Regions from separate parts of the Homo sapiens genome. Here region 2 is linked to region 1. Evidence: promoter capture Hi-C in human tissues and cell types (Jung and others, 2019). All regions are on one chromosome and are shown on one strand. Each heading gives the region's core, a stretch centred on a gene start or on the middle of the fragment in contact. The rest is flanking DNA. Distances are from core to core; before and after follow the strand shown.

What was found. The method cuts DNA at HindIII sites, captures the fragments that hold promoters and counts their contacts. A contact is called where the count stands out against the background at its distance.
Region 2: a fragment that was not itself captured here is called in contact with the fragment with the promoter of MND1 in region 1 in 1 of the 25 tissues and cell types used here (heart left ventricle).

The regions. Positions count from the first base shown.
Region 1 is chr4:153,341,562-153,349,084 of GRCh38, reverse strand. It overlaps MND1 (meiotic nuclear divisions 1), which reads right to left and starts at 4,397. Exons shown (of 8, transcript NM_032117.4): 1 at 4,345-4,397. The coding sequence starts at 4,347. RefSeq lists enhancers at 3,289-3,408, 3,489-3,548 and silencers at 4,029-4,188, 4,319-4,628. The HindIII fragment of the contact is 8,470 bases long and covers 2,863-7,523 here.
Region 2 is chr4:152,962,783-152,970,305 of GRCh38, reverse strand. FHDC1 (FH2 domain containing 1) reads right to left here. Exons shown (of 12, transcript NM_001371116.1): 7 at 7,422-7,492; 8 at 7,176-7,283; 9 at 5,331-5,401; 10 at 2,209-2,326. Among named protein-coding and RNA genes, the nearest start is that of FHDC1, 30 kb to the right of the region's middle. The HindIII fragment of the contact is 5,225 bases long and covers 2,400-7,523 here.

The DNA.
Region 1 (7,523 bases), core at 3,148-5,647:
TATCACCTCCAGTTCTCTAATAAAAAAACTCCACACTAATATTTCTTATGTGATCTGCATCTTTCTCAAAAATTGTAGGGGATTATAAAGGAATATAAATTGTTTGCTTAAAAAGCAGACATAAAACAACAGTTAAAGACTGCCCCATCCAACCAAAAACATCATCAGAAAACGTGAGTTTACATAAGTGAAGACAAGGATTTGGAATTGCCATTCTGGCTACATACTGGAGTGAGTGAGTCTTAATTCTTGTAAAACCTAGAAACCCACTAACTTGGCTGGGCGGTGGCTCACACCTGTAATCCCAGCACTTTGGGAGGCTGAGGCTGGAGGATCACTTGAGGCTGGGAGTTTGAGACCAGCCTGGGCAACAAAGCAAGACACTGTCTCAAAACAAAACAAAACAAAGCCCACACACACAAAAAAAAACAACAACCCACTAACTCATTCCCACAGGAATAAAATGATCAGGTGTTTCTTGATGAGTAATATGGGTAAATAAATAGCTTAAAGTTTATATTTTTCTCTTCTTCCTCGGTCCACTTTCAAACACTGTTTTTCTGCTGGGTTTGGCTACTGATCCCATCTCCTAATATCTTATCTTTGATCTCATTTGCTTTCATGGTTTTAATTAACACTTATGCTGAGACCTCAAATCTTTACATTCACCCCTGGGTGTGCTCCTGAGCTTCAGTGTCATGCATCTACCCGCCTGCTGGACAAACTTCAACTCCGTCAGTCTAAACTGAACTCTTCCTCTCTCATACCTACTCCCCACAAACTTGCTGTTCTAGACCTTGAGTCTCAGATACTATCTCGTGACCCAAGCCAGAGGCCTGACAGTCATCCTAGGTACCTTCACCTCCTTATCTCACATCCAACCAATCACCAAGTTCTGCCAGTTTCAGCATTTAATTATTTCTCTTATCTGTCCTGTCTGTTCTATCTCTACTACCACTGCCTCATTCAGGCCTTCATCATCTATCTCCTGCAATATACCTCCAGTCCCCTAACCACACTTTGACTCACCCTCTATGTTCACATTCCGCACTGGGAAAACATAAATAAGACCTTTTTCCCTGCCTTGCTCAAAACCCTCCAGTGGCTCCCAGACATCCAGACGTTTCTGAGTACCCCAGTATGATATACAAGGCCCTTTATCACCTAACCCCAACCTACCTTTTATAGCCTCTTCCACCACACCCCACCTCAAACTTTGCCATTAACAGTATGGAGACCTAAGCAACTTGTAATACAAAAACTGCCTGTAATTATCTACTCGAAGAATGCTCTCATTTCCATCCTTAAAAAAAATGTTCCTCCACCTAGAACATCCTCACTTCTTGCCTAGTCAAAACTCCAAAACATCTCCCAAGGCTTAGTTTAGGCACTCTCCCTCCAGAACTTCCCTGAGTTCACAGGCTAAGCATGTATTCCCAGAACACACCTTCATCAAATCACTCACTACATTGAAAAGATGTTTACTTGTCCGTATCAGCACACTGAAAAACTTCTTCAGAACATGAACTGCCTTTGCCTTTCCAGGGCTTAGTGCCAAGTTAGACAAGGGAGACATAAAGCTCTTAATTTTAGGACCATGTATCTAAAGCCCCCAACTCTAAAATTTGAGGCTGCTCAGGCTCCTAAGCCCCCCAACACCTACCATACTCCCATAGATATAACAGGTGAATTAATCATAGTGAATTCAGTGACATCATGTATTGCCTGGCTTGAAGAGACAAATCAGAGAAATCTCAGTTAGGCAAACTCCAGGAACCCATACAGATCTGCTCACTAAACCTAGGGCTGAGAGCTAGGGTCCAGGACTGCTCTATTTGCCTCCCTTCATTCTCACCTCTGCAGTATCTGACAAATCAAGCATGAAATTCATAACAGTTAGAAGACTCCTTCAACATATTTTTCTAGTCCAATAGGTCCTAAACTGCCATACATTAGAATCACCTCAGGAGTTTTTAAAAAATACCGATGCCCAGGCTCATCTCTAATGAATGGAATCAAAATCTCTGGAATGGGACCTGGGCAACATATTTTTTAAATCCTCCAACTTATTTTAAAAATCCTCTCCAACATATTTTTTAATTGTGCCCCAGGGTTGAGAACCCTACTTTTGTCAGCCCAGAATCTGAAGGCCATGTCAAGGGCGCTGCGGGGCAATGGGAATCCCTTTAGAATTTCAGTGTGTCGCTGCACTAGCAGAAAGCAGATCCTGAAGTGTTAGGAAAGACTCCTAACATTTTGATATTCGAAACAGCTCCTTGCACTCCACAAGAATCTGCCCCCCAGAGGCAGGCAATGAGGAGAATCTAGCGTCCTGGGGTACCCAGTTTTAGGAAAGCTCTCAACACTCAGCTCAGCAGCTATGAAAGTTACTCAAGAAATGTGGATGAGCTGTATCATCCATTTACCTTGTTTTCAGGCTGATTTATTCATCAGTCTCTTTCATGACTAGAAATAATTTCTATTATTAACCACAGTAGGAGTATCATAGCCAGAATTAAAATAACTAATGTAAAAAGATGCCATATTAATACTCATATTTAGAAACTTCTCAAAAAAATCAATGAGGATTTATCTAATATTTAATTAAGACTAGGAAAAACCTGATAGTATAAGTTAGAGATGCATTCAAATTAGTAAGTCAGGAGACTCAAAACCTGACTCAAGGACTATGAAGCTTTCTGGAAGTATTTTAAACCACTTAAAAAATCATGTTATCTGAGGAACCTTCTCAGTTAGAAGTTATGGAATTCCTACAGCCAGCCCTACTAATCAATTACGATAAAATTATGAAGAATTATTAAGTAGACATCACTGCTGCTCTCAGAGTTCAGCACTGCACTTCTCCAATTTCAAAAATTGCCTGAACTCATTAACTATTTACTTAGGATGCCTAACCAAATGAAAACAGCTATTAATTCATAATCAATCAAAAGTTTACCTTTGACCAACACTAAATTTATTTCTCGATCACATATTAAAAAATAGGAAGTCCACATCTTATCAAAAGCTTTAATTTTTTAAAAGGATTCTCTATTATCGGAGGTAAGCTTCTAAAGAGTTAACACATTTAGTATTAGCAGGTGATTCATGTGTAGAGAGATAGATTAGGTAAAAGGACAACGCGCGTTTGAGCTGCACAGTTCTCCAAGTCAGTTATACGAGGCCAGCAACTCTGCAGAGAAAAATTGTAACACAGAAGGGCACTGCTAACAGATTTGTTTTAACTGTAGTCCTGTTTGGCTCCTTAGAGCACTTCACGCCCAGGTGGCTGGGTTGTTAGTTTAACCACAAAGAAGCCGTTATCATTTATAACTACATCTGGACAAATATCTTCAAATAAATACCATACAACTGGATCCTGGTGTCCCACCCTGCCCCCCTTAGCTCGGCAACATTTAACGGCCACGTAAGTAAATGAAGATATTAAAATCTTAGATCCATTTAACCAGATGTTGATTCTTCGCCAACTGAAGCAGAAAAAACGGCATGAAACTTTGAAGGTTTATGAAAATGATTTGATGAGCAGAAAGACGTTAAGCTCACAAAGCCGATCTTACCAGGACTTAACTGATCATGACCCACGAGGAAGCCTAATTCAGTGCAGAGCGTCCTTAAAAAAGCAACAGCGCCCTACACAACCAGCAGCACCCGGCACAAGAGCAGCGACTCCTGCCCTTTGGCAGAAACCGGGGCGTTTTCACAGAAATCGACTAATTGGCACACAGTGAAGATCCATTAGGTAACTCGAAACTGAGCAGTTCTGGAATGTGCTCTACATATTACAATACAGAAAACCACTCAATGGTGACAAACCAGGAGTGCGCTTTGGGATCAAGACGTTCGCTCCCCGCAGTCCCTCCCGCCCACTTGCGCTTTCTCTCCCCGTTCTTAATGGGGGGGGCTACACCACGCGGGGCCGAAGCTGGAGGCGTAGGGAGCCCAGGTTCTCAAGGGCCCCGTGGTCTTTTAGATAAATCCAGGTTGGTGAAGTTCTCGGGTCACGTTCGCGAACGCTTCCCGCGTTCTAACCTAACCCGCCCGAACGGGCCCTGGGGACAGACGCGGGGTGCAGCCGGCGGGGAGGCCGCGGATGCCCCCGCGCCTCGGGACTCCGGACAGGAGCGGCGGGGAACGCCGCAGAGTGCGGAGTGGCTGCGGCGGGGCCGGGCTGGGCCCCTACACGGTGAGGCCGAGAGCCGGGCGACCGCTCCCGCGGCCCGGAATGGCGGTCAACGCCAGGCCGGGATCCACATGCAGCCGAGGGGCGGCGAAGCCCACACACTAGGGAGGAAGAAGACGCGGGACCGTAGCCTCAGTCCTTACCATGGCGCGGGCGCAGGGGCTTCCGCTGGCCGGGCCCGCGCTTGGGGAGAGGGGCGGGACAGGCCAGGACGCGTTTGATTTTGGCGCCGACTACGCCGCGGGGGCGGAGCAGCGAGACGGTGGAGGTGGGGGAAAGAGGCCGGTCCTCGCCCGCGCGGCGCGCAGCGACCCCTAGCGACCCATCCGAGCCGCCGGCGGGGGAAGGGGCGCGGGCCTGGGGCCGGGGCTGTGGGGAGCGTGTCCGCGTCTCAGTGGACGGGTTGCAGAGCTGCCTCCGTCTCCTCGGTATTCTGTGAATGTGACCTTTTTTTTTTTTAAGGACATCTTGCCTTTGCTTTTACTGCGTTTTCTTGGCGCCGCAGAAATATGGCCTAAGTTTGGATGTAAAAAATAGAGGCGTTTAGGCTGTTGAGGAAGGAAACGCTGCCTCCATCCTTCCGGACTTGTCCTGTCTGGGGCGGACTGGATTCCTTTCTCGTCTTCTAATCTGACCCCTCATCTTCTCCCGAGCCGCTACCCACTGCTTTCCAGCTTTTCAAATCCTGTGTATGTCTGTTTGTTTTTCCCTTAGGTTTTAAAAAAGAAGGAAACAACGGAATGAATTTCAAATCAACATGGTCAAAAATACGCTACTTCATGGCTTGAGAATAGATCCAGATTCATAGCAAAAGCTCAGGCCCCTGAAAGTGCTGAAAAATTTTAACTCAGAATTCAATTATTTTGAAAATTATTCTATGGTGTTTTGAACCATTTTTAGGTGTAAGAAGTACGGTTGGGCGCTGTGGCTCACACCTGTAATCCCAGCAATTTGGGAGGCCGAGGCGGGCAAATCACTTGAGGTAGGGAGTTTGAGACCAGCCTGGCCAACATGGTGAAATCCCATCTCTAATAAAAATACAAAAATTAGCCAGGCGTGGTGGCGGACGCCTGTACAATCCCAGCTACTCGGGAGGCTGAGGCAGGAGAATCGCTTGGACCCAGGAGGCAGAGGTTGCAGTGAGCCAAGACCCCGCCACTGCACTCCAGCCTGGGCGACAGAGTGAGACTCTGTAACACACACACACGCACGCACACACACACACACACACACACACAGTGTAGTAAGTCTTGTAGATGCTATAAGAGTAGCATCTAAAGTTGGAATTTATGTCCCCTGTTGCTTCTGCTGGAGGCAGAGGAAGGGGTACATTGAATTGCAGAGTTCCATTAATTTGGTTTTTCCTGTAAGAGTTATACCATGTAACTGATGGTACATAAGGTAATTTTAAAATGATAAATGAGTACATTAAGTAACTACAGTAGTGGTATATACATTTGTGCTACTTGGGGAAAGCCTTGTCTTAATTGGCTCTCAGGCTTGTTGCAGGTGAGTGGTGACTATCTGAGGCCAGTGGCGCTGTGGCAGAAAAATTTACCAAGGCAGTTGTAAGTAAAGAAAGGCAGAATCATTAGAGAAAGCATGAAAATACGTTGCAAGGGAGCAATGGGCAGAATCAGCAGAAAAGGAGCTGACTGCAAGGAAACAAAGGCTTGCTGGGGATTTTATAGAATAGTGCTTATGCTGTATACGGAAGAGGGCTTTGTGCAGTACTGATGTTACAGTCCCAAGTTTTCCTCCGCCCCTGCCTCTAAAGCGACACAGTGCAAAAGCCTGCCCTGGGACAGTAACAAATTGACCCAAACAGGTCTTCTTTTGGGAAAAATGAGTGCTAAATGGATATAAAAAAGGGTCACTTAAGCTGCATCTGTATCCTAAGTGTCACTGAGAGCTGCTGTGACAGTTCTCTGAGGTTCCTGTTGTGCATTGCAGTCTTGATCAACCAGACCTGGGAATCACCGCCACCTAGGAAAGAAGACACATTCTACTGCCTCTGGTTCCTTTGCATTTTCAGTACAAATACCTTAAACTTCAGATAACCTTCTGATGCCCCTTCCTTGACATTCTGAAAAGCATGACCTATAGGAGCAGCTTATTTATTTATTTAGAGTTGGGGTTTCGCTCTTTTGCCCAGCCTGGAGTGAAGTGGCATGATTTTGGCTCACTGCAACCTCCAACCCCTAGGTTCAAGCGATTCTCTTGCCTCAGCCTCCTGAGTAGCTGGGATTATAGGCGCCCACCACCACCCCCGGCTAATCTTTGTATTTTTAGTAGAGATGGGGTTTTACCATGTTGGCCAGGCTGGTCTCGATCTCCCAGTCTCAGGCGACCCATCCGCCTTGGCCTCCTAAAGTGCTAGGATTACAGGCGTGAGCCACCGTGCCTGGCAGGAGGAGCTTATAAAGGAAATAGGAAAACAAAGTCAAGTCACTTGGAAGAGACTGAGGAAAAAGTCTGCAATGTAGGAAAAGAAGTAGGAGAATGCAAAACCAAGAGAGGAGAAAATTTTAAAAGAAAAACTTTAGACAAATGAGTTCCTCTCGGCAACGTGGCCAGAGAGGTTTTTTGTTGTTGTTGTTTTGTTTTTTTGAGACAGGGTTTCACTCTGTCACCCAGGCTGGAGTGCAGTGGCACAATCATGGTTCACTGCAATCTAGAACTCCAGGGCTCGAGGGATTCTCCTGCCTTGCCCTCCCAAGTAGTTGGGACTACAGATGTGCATAACTATGCCTGGCTAATTTTTTAAAAATTTTCCATAGAGATGGTGTCTCCCTATGTTGCCTAGGCTGGTCTAGAACGCCTGGATTCAAGCAATCTTCCTGCCTTAGCCTCCCAAAGTATTGGGATTACAGGTGTGAGTCATGCCTAGCCAACAGGAAGTTTTTATAGACAGAAAAGGGAAGTGAGTTACAGAAATAGCTTGACTGATTACAGCTCCTTGTTTGAATTATTTGGCCACTGTCGGCAGCCTGTGGGCTGAAGCTCAGCTACTTGTGATTGGCTGAGAATTGGGGGTTTGTTACACACCATGCTTGGTTTTCAGTTTGTGTACCACGTTAGGTTGCAGTTCCTTACAATTCCTTAGGTAGGAACTCAAAGTGTGGAGACAGCTTCAAGCCAATGGCCGCCTGCTTATTTAACAAAATTTTAAGGAAGAAATAGTAAACATTATCAACCTGTCAGTCACAACACAGCTTCTGAGTTAGAAATGACAATGCAATCATGTCATTTGGGTAGGGCGTCATTCTCAATGGGATGACATCAAAATGGGTTCCTGGGAGACAAAAAGATCTTAGATGGT
Region 2 (7,523 bases), core at 3,763-6,262, 380 kb after region 1:
CAGCTGTAGTGTCCAAGTCAACCTTACATCTCTAACTTGCCTGCTACACACTGAAGTTTCAAACAAGTTTACTCAGTATTTCTTACCCCAAGGGTGAAAATGCTGAAATAGATCTGCAAAAATGTGTTCCTGTTATTTTTCTGCTCTGAATCCTTGAAGAGTTCCCCACTTCTTATGGCATAGAGTTTGAGTCCAGCATTCAGACTGGTGTTCAGAGACCTGAGTGCCCTGACCCTGACCTACCTCGAAAAATTTTATCTCACCTATTCAAAAGGAAGTTGAATTTAAGAAAGAAAAGTATGCAGCTGTATGAAACGTTTTACTTATAGAGATAAAAATGACTGGGTTGGCGCAGTGGCTCATGCCTACAATCCCAGCACTTTGGGAGGTGGGCGGATCACGAGGTCAGGAGATTGAGACCATCCTGGCTAACACGGTGAAACCCCATCGCTACTAAAAATACAAAAAATTAGCCTGGTGTGGTGACATGCGCCTGTAGTCTCAGCTGCTCAGGAGGCTGAGGGAGGAGACTCACCTGAACCCAGGAGGTGGAGGTTGCAGTGAGCCGAGATCGTGCCACTGCACTCCAGCCTGGGTGACAGGGTGAGACTCTGTCTCGGGAAAAAAAAAAAAAAAAAAACGACTGCCAGAAAGAAGTGTAAAGGGTTAAAACAAGACTGACTATGAAAAGCAGTCCAGAGGTGAGGCTAAGTCAGAGCTGTTCTTCATCCTAAGCTTCTCTGTGTGAATATTGACTGAGATGGTAATAGTTAATATGAGAACTTGGAGGAATGAAACATCCAGAATTTTAGTCTTGATGTGCAATGGTCCTTATTCTTGATTTTCCGGATTTGTTTAATGCATTCGTTTACTGTTCAGTATTTTTGTGGTATTGGTGGTGGTGTTTGTAACAAGAAAATTAGTTTGGTTTTACTTGAAGGAAAATACAGAGCACATGTTTAATAATAAAAATAAACTCACAGCAGAGCCAAACAAAATCAAGCATCCGCCGAAGGCCATAATATTTTGAAGGAGCTGAATTAAGAAGCGAAGGCTTCAGCTGGCACAACCTCAGGAGCACACTGTTCCTCCCCAGTGCCAAGGGCAGCCCTGCTACATGATTCCACCTCACAGGTCTCAAAACACTAACAACACTTCAGGTAGCATAGCCTTTCGCTGAAGACTAAAAGCATGAGATGGTGCCTTTTTTTTTTTTTTTAATAAGGAAGATAAAAGAAGTATGTCAGACTATGCGATTAGTGAGTCACAGTGAGCTGTCACAAACATGTCCACTCTGCTGTTTTTTGTTGATGTTATTTGGAGCAGCTCCCGACACACCCTGTGGGCCCTGCGTACTCCTGGTGTTGACGGGCACAGCTCTCATGTGTTCTGCTGCTCTCATTATAAAACATGCCAAAACGCAGCTTGTTTCTTCAACATAAACAAGTGAAGAAATGACAGCCCAAGTTCTAAGGCATCTTGATTTCTGTGGAACTTTGTTCTGTTATCCGAAAGTTTAACTGGTTTAGAAACAAAACTTGAGTTGCCAGGTATAGCCCAAGTGCAACTCCATGGCTGATACCAGTTCACCACAGTAAACTGCAATCGTGCAAACTGAGCAGTGAACAACAGGAGCCTCGCAGAAGCACTGTCCCTAAACAAATACATCAGGCTTGGGCTGGGCGCGGTGGCTCACACCTGTAATCCCAGCACTTTGGGAGGCCCAGTGAGTGCGGATCACCTGAGGTCGGGAGTTTGAGAGCAGCCTGGCCAACATGGCAAAACCGCGTCTCTACTGAAAAAATACAAAAATTAGCCAGGTGTGGTGGTGCATGCCTGTAGCCCCCAGCTACTCGGGAGGCTGAGGCAGGAGAATTGCTTGAACTAGGGAGGCGGAGGTTGCAGTTTGCCGAGATCGCACCATTATACTCCAGCCTGGGTGACAGAGCAAGACTCCCTCTCAAGACAAACAAACAAACAAGTCAAACAAACGAAGAGACAAAAAAAAAAAATATATCAGGCTTAGATCACATTTAACATCCTCTGCAAAGAATGGGCATGGAAATACCAAGTTCCTCTGACTAACTTGGAGAAAAAAAATATGAATGGGAACTGCTGCTTCCACAAATACACCCATGCAAATTTAACCAGCCCCGGGGTGCTGCTGGGAGATGAGATTAGAGGGACTGACTTGAGTCACCTACAAACCTGAAGAAAATCTTCCATCTGCTGACAAAGTTCACCATCCCGCTGGATGTTTTCTTTTAGTGATTTTGTCCTGACAAACAGCAAGTGCAGTTCTGCCTCCGTGTTCTCCAGAGATAATCTAAAAGAAGAAAGGGGAGAGTGGGCAGTTGGAACAAGGAAGCCATGTGTCATGTAGGTATATTAAATAAGACTAACTGTTGTTCAACCTTGGAAACAGAAGGGGAGAGCTACTGTGATGATATTTATCTACCCCTGTATTTAGATCTTTTGTGTTTCCTCCTGTTTTAAGAAGTGATTCGTTTCTAAAGACATATACTGGTTCAAAGAGAGCAGGTTGTAACTGTACTCTTGATGGTAAGATAAACAAAACCATGGGATCTGCAAACGTTTTCATAAACTAGCTCTGAACACCTTTATGCAATAAGCATTACAAACTAAATGCCAGCGGCTTCCGGGATTCATATGCTTTCCATGGGCCACTAAACACAAATAGGAAACTCTAACCCACAAGAAGCAAGGCAATATATGTTGATAATTCTAACACTAAGGGTAACAGTGAGAAAATAGCAGATTCCATGAAAATAGCAGATTCCACAGGTGGCCAGAGCAGGCTTTCTATATTTTACAGAGAACTAAAACATAGCTAACAAATGTGCAACTTTTTTTTTTTTGAGACACAATCTCCCTCTGTCACTCAGGCTGGATTGCAGTGGCCTGATCTTGGCTCACTGCAACCTCTGCCTCCTGGGTTCAAGCAATTCTCATGCCTCAGCCTCCAGAGTAGTTGGGATTATAGGCATGTGCCATCATGCCCAGCTTAATTTTTGTATTTTTAGTGGAGACGGGGTTTCGCCATGTTGGCCAGGCTGGTCTAGAACCCCTGAGCTCAAATGATCTGCCCACCTCAGCCTCCCAAAGTGCTAGGATTACAGGTGTGAGCCACCAGGCCCAGCTGATTTTTATTATTATTATTATTTAAAGAGACAGTCTCACTCTGTTGCCCAAGCTGAAGAGCAGTGGCAAGATCATGGCTCACTGCAGCACTGACCTCCTGGGCTCAGGTGATCCTCTCACCACAGCCTTCCAAGTAATTGGGATCACAGGTGTGCGCCACCACACCCAGCTAATTTTTAAATTTTTTGTAGAGACAGGGTCTTACTATGTTGCCCAGACTGGTCTCAAACTACTGGTCTCAAGCAGTCTTCCTGCCTTGGCCTCCCAAAGTGCTGGGATCACAGGCATGAGCCACCACAGCCAGCCCTAATTCTGCAAATTAACAGTTGGATTGATTGCAATGCTTTTGTTATATACATCAAATCAAGATAGGCAGAATGTGGGCCTGGCATGGTAGCTCAGGCCTGTAATCCCAGCACTTTGAGAGGGTGGGGCGGGCAGATCACCTAAGGTCAGAAGTTCGAGACCAGCCTGGCCAGTATGGTGAAACCCTGTCTCTACTAAAAATACAAAAAAATTAACTGGGCATGGTGGCGGGTGCCTGTAGTCCCAGCTACTTGGGAGGCCGATGCAGGAGAATCACTTGAACCCAGGAGGCAGAGATTACAATGAGCCAAGATTGCACCACTGAACTCCAGCCTGGGTGACACAGCGAGGCTCTATCTCAAAAAAAACAAAAGATAGGCAGAATGTGAATGATGGTTTTGTTACCCAGAAAACTGAGTAGGCGAAACCTAAAATGCATGTGAAATTCATAAATTAGGATGCATTCATGCTTCCATTGTCAATTCAAATGTTTCTTTGTGCAATAAAGTTTTCCACCTTCACTGGTCACCGGCACATATCTGAGACCTGTTTGTATTTCCCAAGTGTATTTCACCTTCCATTTCAAATAAACAAGCTTGCTGAATAGGATTTTTCTAAGACAATATCTAGCTCCAATCCAGCTCTGACCAGAAACGCCATTTCAAAAATATAATGCTAATTTCTATCTATATATCTCTTAGGAATATTTTTATACTAATTACAGTAAAAATGTTCCCACACAAATTTCTTTCAGTAAGTCAAAAGTTCCTATCTTATAAGATGTCCATTCTTTTTAGAGAACAATCTAGAGATCTGTAAACATGAATTATAAACTGTTTACACCTCTGAACTGATAATCCCACTTTGGGAAAGACATGTAATCTGTGGCTAGATATTCATAGAATCAGTAACTTTTGAGGTACAGGCCAGTGGCAGGGCTGTGAGCTATGGTTCATTTATTTATATGCATATGGTTCACAGATGTCATAGTTGGATACACTCAGTAAGTATATGCTAGGAACTGGCTTGACACATGAGCGGTGGCTGAACCTGCTCATGAGAACCAACTGTGGGTGTCTCTTCCTAATTTGCATTCAGTAATGTATGTCAGCAGCTTGACATCAGCCATGGTTACGGTATTTACAACACGGAAATCAGCAAATGCTACAAATCAGGACTTTTTTCTCCAACAGCTGGTTATTGAACATTTACCGTGGGATGTGTGGATGTAATATAAATTTTAAAACACATATACAAAAGTCAAAATAGTATATACACACAGAGTCTAGCTACATTAAGATACATATCTACATTAGGATCAGAAGCAAATTAGAGTGATGTAATTAGAGCCTTATGTTTGGCAGATACTTTCTCTGTATGTGCCTTTCTCTGTGAGTGACTAATTTAAAGTAAAATCATTTCACAGCTCTTGGTACGGTTACAAACTCTTTTAATGCAAAGGAAAATAAATGTACCATGTTAGATTCTACAAGGAAACAGTGAAATGTGGCCATGAAAGTTTGATTGATATATACCAACTCCCAAGGAAATAGGTGGTGCTGTTTAAGCTCTATCTCTTGGGCGTGGAGGGATTTGAAATTATTAATCCATATTTTTTATACTGATGATATTCATTAGAATAGACTGAAATAGTTTCTTTAGTTTACAAATAAAGATTAATTTTTCAAAACCCCCAAATTCCAAAGGTGCACACACACCTGTGTTAAGCAAATGAAGGACAGTCTGAAAGTTCAATGAAACAAAACCTTTTAGACTTCAAACTGGAATCTAAAAGTTTTAACTATTTATCAGTTTTCATAAAAAGGTAAAGAATCTTGAATTCTCACAATTCACTTGCTCACCTAGCAGTCTTCTGAACATGATGCAATTTTTCTGAAAAGTTTAGAAGAATGGTATCTTTCTTTTGGGCTTCCTGGAACAAAAACAGAATTTTATCTCACTATGTTGATAAAACTGGAAGGAAATAATTTTCTTAGGGCTTAAAGGAATCTTAAAATCACTGCTCCTGTTTTTAAACTTGACACATTCAAAGCATTTCACTGAGACATGAACTCTGATACTCTTAGTAAGATTTGCTAGAACTCTCCTACTCTCAAGATACATTTACCTTTCCAGAGCAATTGATCTTGACACAAAATACAATTAATGAGCATTTGGCTGCAGCTCAGCAGGGCCCCTTGTTTCTGAAAGAATCCAATATATCCTGCTTAAATACCACCCATACCTGTGAGCATGCCTTTAAATGAGCGAGATACCTTCAGCTGTTAAACCAGTTTGCAAACAGAGTTTAATCAGAAGGTACAGGAGCCATGGCAGTGTTTGGATTCTTCACCTGTTCAGGAGGTGAGAGGAAGGCAAGTGGGAAGGAAGCAATGACTGACCCAGGAGGCTTCGCCACATGGACAGAGACCAAGTTACCCAGAGGGCCTGGACACTTGGATTCAGGAGAGCTTTGCCCGAATACTATCCACGACCCTTGCTGGGCAAGGAACACATTTTCTTCTTTTAATGCCTGAAAATTAACCTTTCAATTAAGTCCCAAGCTAAACATGGCCCTTTGTCTTCTGAAGAATATAGTAATAATAGTGTGTATGGTTATTTATGGAGAGCTCACCATAGGCCAAACATTGAGATAAGCACTTTATGGAGTCAGCTCCTTCAGCACTCTCAATTACCTAGTTTTGGGGTAAGTTATCACTACTCTCACCATTAGATGAAGAAATTGAGGGTCTTCAGGTTTAAATAACTTGCCTGAGGAAGTAGAGCTAGCAAAGGACAGTCAAAATCTCCCAGTCCTGTCCTGTTCTGAAGCTCACATTCAAAACAAGACTGCACCACGGCTTCCTCCCCAGGTTAAAGCTACGACTACAGCACTGATGTCAAAACAACTGAGTGATTCAATGGAGGAAAAGCCAATCAGTTCCATTAGCTGAGATCATTTCAAAACAAAGATATAACTGTCCTTGATTTTCCACTTTGTTCCTCACTTTTTTGGTGTTATAGAGATCCAGTCAAAAAAAAAAAAAAAAAAAAAAAAAAAAAAAAAACAAAGCAATGGATAGGATCAGACTCCAAACCCTGTGCTAGCAGCATGGTGCTCAAATGCATGGTTCACGGAGAAAGACAGAAGTGACCTTTCTACACATAACTGGTCACAAATCTAGTCAATTCCACATCAGAAAATTTCAATCCTCCATCCTCTATTCTCTGTCCCTATGACCATTACCCTCCCCCTCAACGCTCACCAAACAATTACAGCCAACTTCTGCGGAGGTGTATTCCTATTTCTAGTTCTTTCTCTACTCTAACCCAGCCTCCACAGTGCCTTATTTGCCTAAAAACAAAAACAAAAGAGATCCAGTCAAGCTATTACACTGTGCACAAACTCCTGTTGGTTCCCCACTGCTAAAGCATGAAATCCAAATTCCCCACCTTTGACACTTAAATCCTTCATAGCTGGCTTCACCAGCCTCTCTGCTTCACTCTCCCACTTCCCTTCAGCCCTATAGCCCTGGGTGCAGTACAACTCAGGAATCTGCTAATGGCGCTTCTACAAACAGAACCATCTTGGAACTTGCCATGCCCTTTCCTAACCCTGCTGGACACCATCTTATGCCTGGGAAAAACTTCACTGCCTCCAAGGGGTATTCATATGCGTTCTCTAAGTCCTAATCATTTCCACATACCTGTGCAACAAAGTGCAGGAGATTCATCCCAGGTTTGTTTGCTTTTGTGTCTGCCAATTTGAGCAAAGAAGACAGTTTAAATCCTACTGCATTGCCGGCATACCCTCCCTAAAGAAGACAAATCAAAAAGAAAAAATTATGTATACATACACACACACACACACACACACACACACACACACACACACACCTTTAGATAGACAAGGTTGAAAACATAACATTACAATTGTTTTGGATTTTACTTACTGCATTCATGATATTCCCAGCCTGGAGCACCAAGTGTAATATTGAATGTAGCTCTTCACATGACATCAGTTCTATCAAAAAGAACACATCACAGCACCTTAG